2 separate regions of the Homo sapiens genome follow, and region 1 is linked to region 2. The links are contacts of gene promoters, found by promoter capture Hi-C in human tissues and cell types (Jung and others, 2019). All regions are on one chromosome and are shown on one strand. The core of a region is centred on a gene start or on the middle of the fragment in contact, and the rest is flanking DNA. Distances in the headings are between cores, read along the strand shown.

The links. Contacts are between HindIII fragments. The study calls those that stand out against the background at their distance.
Region 1: a contact is called between a fragment that was not itself captured here and the fragment with the promoter of NR2E1 in region 2, in 1 of the 25 tissues and cell types used here (thymus).

The regions. Positions count from the first base shown.
Region 1 is chr6:107,971,709-107,974,472 of GRCh38, forward strand. No RefSeq gene overlaps it. Among named protein-coding and RNA genes, the nearest start is that of SEC63, 15 kb to the left of the region's middle. The HindIII fragment of the contact is 4,193 bases long and covers 1-2,764 here.
Region 2 is chr6:108,164,565-108,167,311 of GRCh38, forward strand. It overlaps NR2E1 (nuclear receptor subfamily 2 group E member 1), which reads left to right and starts at 1,458. Exons shown (of 9, transcript NM_003269.5): 1 at 1,458-2,226. The coding sequence starts at 2,202. RefSeq lists enhancers at 501-1,402, 2,303-2,747. The HindIII fragment of the contact is 11,535 bases long and covers 1-2,747 here.

The DNA of each region.
Region 1 (2,764 bases), core at 147-2,646, 190 kb before region 2:
CAAGCTCCGCCTCCCGGGTTCACGCCATTCTCCTGCCTCAGCCTCCCCAGCAGCTGGGACTACAGGTGCCCGCCACCACACCCAGCTAATTTTTTGAATTTTTAGTAGAGATGGGGTTTCACCATGTTAGCCAGGATGGTCTCGATCTCCTGACCTCGTGATCTGCCCGCCTCGGCCTCCCAAAGTGCTGGGATTACAGGCATGAGCCACCACGCCCGGCCTAATTTTTGTATTTTTAGTAGAGATGGGGTTTCACCACGTTAGCCAGGCTGCTCTCAAACTCCTGACCTCAAGTGATCCTCCTACCTTGGCCTCCCAAAGTGTTGGGATTACAGGCGTGAGCCGCCTCTCCCAGCTGCATGTTCAGCTTTGTGTCCACTCACTATTCTATTCCCTGCACCAGATTCCTCATACTGACCATTTCATTCTCCAAACATCTAGCTTCCACTTGGGGCCCCTAGTCAATCAGATATGTCTGTATATGTCTTAATCCTAATCGTGGACAGTGTTCAAGTATTTTATTCAGAGGGCTCCTTAATTCTGTTGCAAATCAGTGAATGCAAATAGCTACAAGGTAAAGGGGGTTACCAGCCTCCACTCTCCAGGAATATCTGAGTCTCAGTCTGATCTTCAAAGCCCTTTACAAAGTTGCTCCATCATTATCATCTTAATCCCATAACTGGGTGACTTTGATAGGCTGGAACTAAGTTTTCTGGATTTTATAGGCAAATTCTATGACTATATCATTCATATAATAGAAGGGGGTAAGGAGGACCAAAAAGGAAGAAAAAACTGAATTTCAGGTTCATTTGCTCAGGCTCTCAGTTCCTGCAGAACATGAGTTACAACAGTAGTGATGAGGGCAGCCCAGGGTGCTTCAGATGCAGTGTAACCAGCTCAAGTCCTGCTGCTCGCCGCTCAGAGGTCAAAAGCACAAGAAGCGAGGTGTGGTGAAAGGAAAGCAACTTTATTCAAATGCTAGAAGTTGGGGAATAGCCAGGCTCATGCCTTTAAAAGACCATTCCCAACTTTAGGCTAGGGAGAGGGACTTAAAAAGGGGAACTTGGAATGGGAAGTATGCAGGAGTGGTGCTGAGTTCAAGGTCTGTGTCTCTTGTTTCCCTGGTGACTGTCAGGGTGATCTGATGTCATCTGAACGATGGCCGGGTTGTAGACTAACAGCCTTGAGGTAATCTCTGGCATTTTGCAGCTGGGCCTCCATGTCTGGTTTATGTCAAGATTAGACCCTGGAACTTCTAAGTAAGCACATAATTAGATCCAAGTACAATTAGATAAATGTGCATGGTGTAAGGGAGTGTATGGTAAGAAAGGGAGAGACGCGGTGTTTCAAATAAAGTACATTTCAAGGCTACGTCCTAATACTAAGGAGGAAAAAAGGGTTTCTGCAGTAGGCTTCAAGGTTACATCTTGAGACTGGAGAGAAAAGAGAAAAAGGGGGGAAAAAGTTTTGAAATGCATTTTGAAGCTGAGCTATTCAGTTCCCATAGGGTCCCATCTCCAATAGATGAACCTAAGAAATAAGTGAGCAAGAGAACTGTGGGGCTGTCATTTATATGGTGTTACAGCTGCTGTGACCCATCCCTCACCTGCAGGTATCAGATGAAGGGTCCTAAATTGGAATCAGGCAGAGAGAGAATAAGAGAAAGAGAAGGGATTGAAGTACACCCAAAAATCCTTTATATATTAACAGGCATGTGAATCTTTAAGATGCAGTACAGGATGTGAGGTTTACCAAATTATTTGACCACTGCCTCCCTTTTTTTTTTTTTTTTTAACAGAATAAGCAAAACAAGAGTTTTTTTTTAATTATTATTTTTTTCTTTATTTTTTTTTCCCCTTTGGTAGAGTCAGGGTCTCACTATGTTGCCCAGGTTGGTCTTGAACTCCTGAGCTCAAGGGATCCTCCCACCTTGACCTCCCAAAGTGCTGGGATTACAGGGGTCAGCCAACATGCCTAGTCAACAAGGGTTTAGTGTTTTGCAAAAACACACTTGGGAAATGCTGGTCTAGTAGATTTTTGGAACACACATGCCACCAATGGATGACTTTATCAAGAGTAGAGAAACCAGTTTGTCAGGTAAGAAGGGGAAGGAAAGACAGGGAGGAACGAAGGTGCTCAGCGGAAGGGAAGGAACAGGAATGACAGCTGGAGAAAGTGGCATGGGAGGAGGATACTGAGGAAGAACTGATTGCTAGGGGTGTTTCGTTTTGCTTTGTTTTTGAGACAGGGTCTCGTTCTGTGGTCCAGGCTGGAGTGCAGTGGTGTGATCACAGCCCACTGAAGCCTCAACTTCCTGGGCTCAGGTGATTCTCCCTCCTCAGCCTCCCAAGTAGCTGGGACCACAGGCCCACACCACCAGGCACGACTAATTTTGTTGTTGTTGTTGTTATTTTCTGTAGTGATGGGGTTTCGCCATGCTTCCCAGTCTTGTCTCAAACTCCTGGGCTCAAGCTATTTGCCCACCTCAGCCTCCCAAAGTGCTGGGATTATGGGCATGAGGCACTGTGCCCAGCCTGGTTTATTTTCTTTTAAAATATGTGTGGTCTTGCCATGTTTCTAGAACACACTCTCAGCCCATCTGTTTTCCATCTCTTACAGGATGCTTCTAGCTGCTCTCCTGGGTGGAACATCACAGAAATCATCCCCCTGCCCCACTCTGGGGCTTGGGGCCCTCCTGGTCTGCCAAGAGGTTCCCAAGCTGATTGCCAAGGGGCCATCTTATTCTTAGATACAATCTTATCTC
Region 2 (2,747 bases), core at 208-2,707:
CCTAATAAACCCCTACGCGCTTATGGCCTCGTCCCACAATCCCCCAATCTCGTCCCAATTCGAAAAACCGAGGAGGAGGGAATAAACTGAGAGATAAAGATCCCCCCATCTTGCTCTTTCCCCGGGACCCCAGCCTTGGTCGCGGCGCCCCACTAAGGAGGACACAGGCTCTGGTGTGTGTGGTGTGCGAGACCCCGAGCTCGAGGCCGAGCCAAGGCTGGGCAGAAAGTTGCAATCACGTGCTGTCGGAGCCCACTGGAGCGCACAGCCCGCTCCCCCTGGGACGCCCAGGCGGAGGACCTGCTGCGCCCTCCCAGGGCTCGGGGGACTCCAGCATTCACTTGCACGCACAGGCGAACTCTGATTGAAAGCCCGGGATGACACCGAGTCTGGAGAAAGAGGGACCGGGGGGTGGGCTGGCGGAATTGCAGAGCGCCGGCCACAGCTCCCCTCCCCGCGAACGTCGAGCGGAGGGCGGGAGGTGTAACCTCTGACCTCTGGCCGGGTCCACGCCCTGAGGAGGGACTGGCAAGCTCTTGTTCGACAAGTTCAAGCTGCCGAGAGAGCTTAAATAGAATTAATCTCTTAGAGATCGGGGATCATCGCTCCCTCGGCATGCGCTCTCCCAGCGCCGCGCACAGAGCAAGGCGCGAGAGAGCTCAGGAATCGCGGGAAGGCAAGCGGAATGGGGAGGGGGTAGGGGATGAGGGCCTCTCTTCACTATTCCTCCGCCCGGAGAGCGGGAGCCCGCAACGCCCGCCGAGGACGAGCGGCGGGAGGGAACGCTCTGCCCTCCAGCCGCCCCGGTGCAGATAATGGAGGCGACAAGAGATTCGCTCAGCGTCGGATGGGCCAGCTCTGCTTGGGGAAGCTGGCGGCATCCTCCCCTCGGCTGGTGCCCAAACCCACTGCGCGAAGGCCGAAGGAACGCGGAACCTCCAGAAGACCCCATCCTCAGCCCTGACTTTCCGTAGATATGTGCAAAATGAGTAAATTACTCACCTCGGGCCAGATCCAAGTTTTACCCAACAGAAGGGGCACCGGACCAAGAATGAACCAACTCACATGGCCATGTCCGGCGCGCACAATCACACGCCAGCACACAGCCACCCAATTTCTTCCGCGAATCTATCTGGCACTCTGGAGAGAGGGGGAAAAGCGTTTTGAGAAAGCCCCGTCACCCCTCCCCTTCCTTCTTGCCGTGAAATATACGAATTCATTTTTATTACGAGCCGCACCGTCCTCACCATCACGCACGCACAGAGCCACACTCCCATATTCACACTTTCTAACTCGTAAGCTCCGACAGCGCCTGCATTTTCTTTGGGAGCCGCTTGGAGGTTCATTAATATCATTAGCATTTAACCCCCTCCCTCTTCCCATCCCCTCCCCGCACATGGCTGACGTCAGACCCCGCCAGGAGTTGGGGGAAAAGCTAAGTGGGCCAGGGACGCCCTATTCCCCTCCCCGCGGCTGCCTGTCAGAGCGCTTCTGGAGATATTACAGGGGACCCAGCCCGCAGCGACAGGCACAAAGTCACGGGGTAATGAACTTCGGGGACCCTTCGCCGCTGCGTGCGCGGCTCTCCCCGGAAACCCGGACCTGGCCGCCTCTTCCCTCGGAAGATTTCCCAGCAATCTAGTTTTCCCACTCTGCGCTTGGGTTCCGGCAGCGCGGAGCCCGTCTGCCTCTGAGACTGCGGTAGTGTTTTCCTTCTTTCCTTGGGAGACCAGCGGTCGGCAGAGATTGCCCACACTCTGCATGCCTATGTAGAGGGAGAGATCGAAGACTGAGTGACAGGAATGGGGAAAAAGAGGGATTTCGCTCCGTAGGAAGGCCATTTTCGTGTCTCCATCTCTGTCTTTCAACATCCCTCTCTTGCTGTTCTTCCTTCTTCCTCAGTCTTCCTGTCCATCTCTCCATCTGTCTGTCCATGTGTGTGTCCATATCAAGCAGCATTCCCAGCAGCTGCGGTTTTGCAAGAGCCGGGAAGAAACTTAAGGATGCTTAAATTTCCACTGTTGGACGAATTCTGAGCGCCCAGGGAGCAGCGCAGCGCGCGACTGACACCCACCTGTCCCGCCCAGGAGCCTTGCAGGCTGGAGGGCAGCTGGAGAGCGGCGGCGCCCGGCGGCGAGGCGGGCGCTGCCGGCCGGGACTCGGGCAGCGCCCACCAACCGCTCCGCCCCGGGACAGCCAGCATGAGCAAGCCAGCCGGATCAACAAGTGGGTACCTCTCGGGCCGCCGTGGGGCCTAGGCGCGCAGCCTGGGGCGAGCGAGCGGGGAGGCTGGGGGAGGTCCTGCCTGGAGCGCTGCGAATCTGAGCCCCTGAGAGGGATTCCAGCGGGCGTGTGCGTTCGGCCCAGACCTGTAGACCGTGAGTTGGAGCATTTCGTGGAGAGGGGAGAGCCGTTTCGTTGCCTCTGGATTGCTTGATCCCCCCTGTCTGGTGCGGTGAGAAGGTTACGACCCGCGCAGCCCACCAGTCGGATGAGTTGTCTCCATTTAGCCGCCAGGTGCTGGATGGGGGGGCCATGGGGGCGGGAACTGGGCCGCAGCTCCAGGCGGTAGCACAATAACACACTCGCTCAAAACTCCGAGCTCCAGCGCGCAAAAGCAACTCTGTGCAAAGCGGATTTTGAATGGAATGCTTTGCACCCCGTTTCTAGCTATTTCAAATAATCCTGCAAACTGGGAAGCAGAAACAATTTAAAAGTCACATTTTCCTTAATCCTAAATCCGCGTA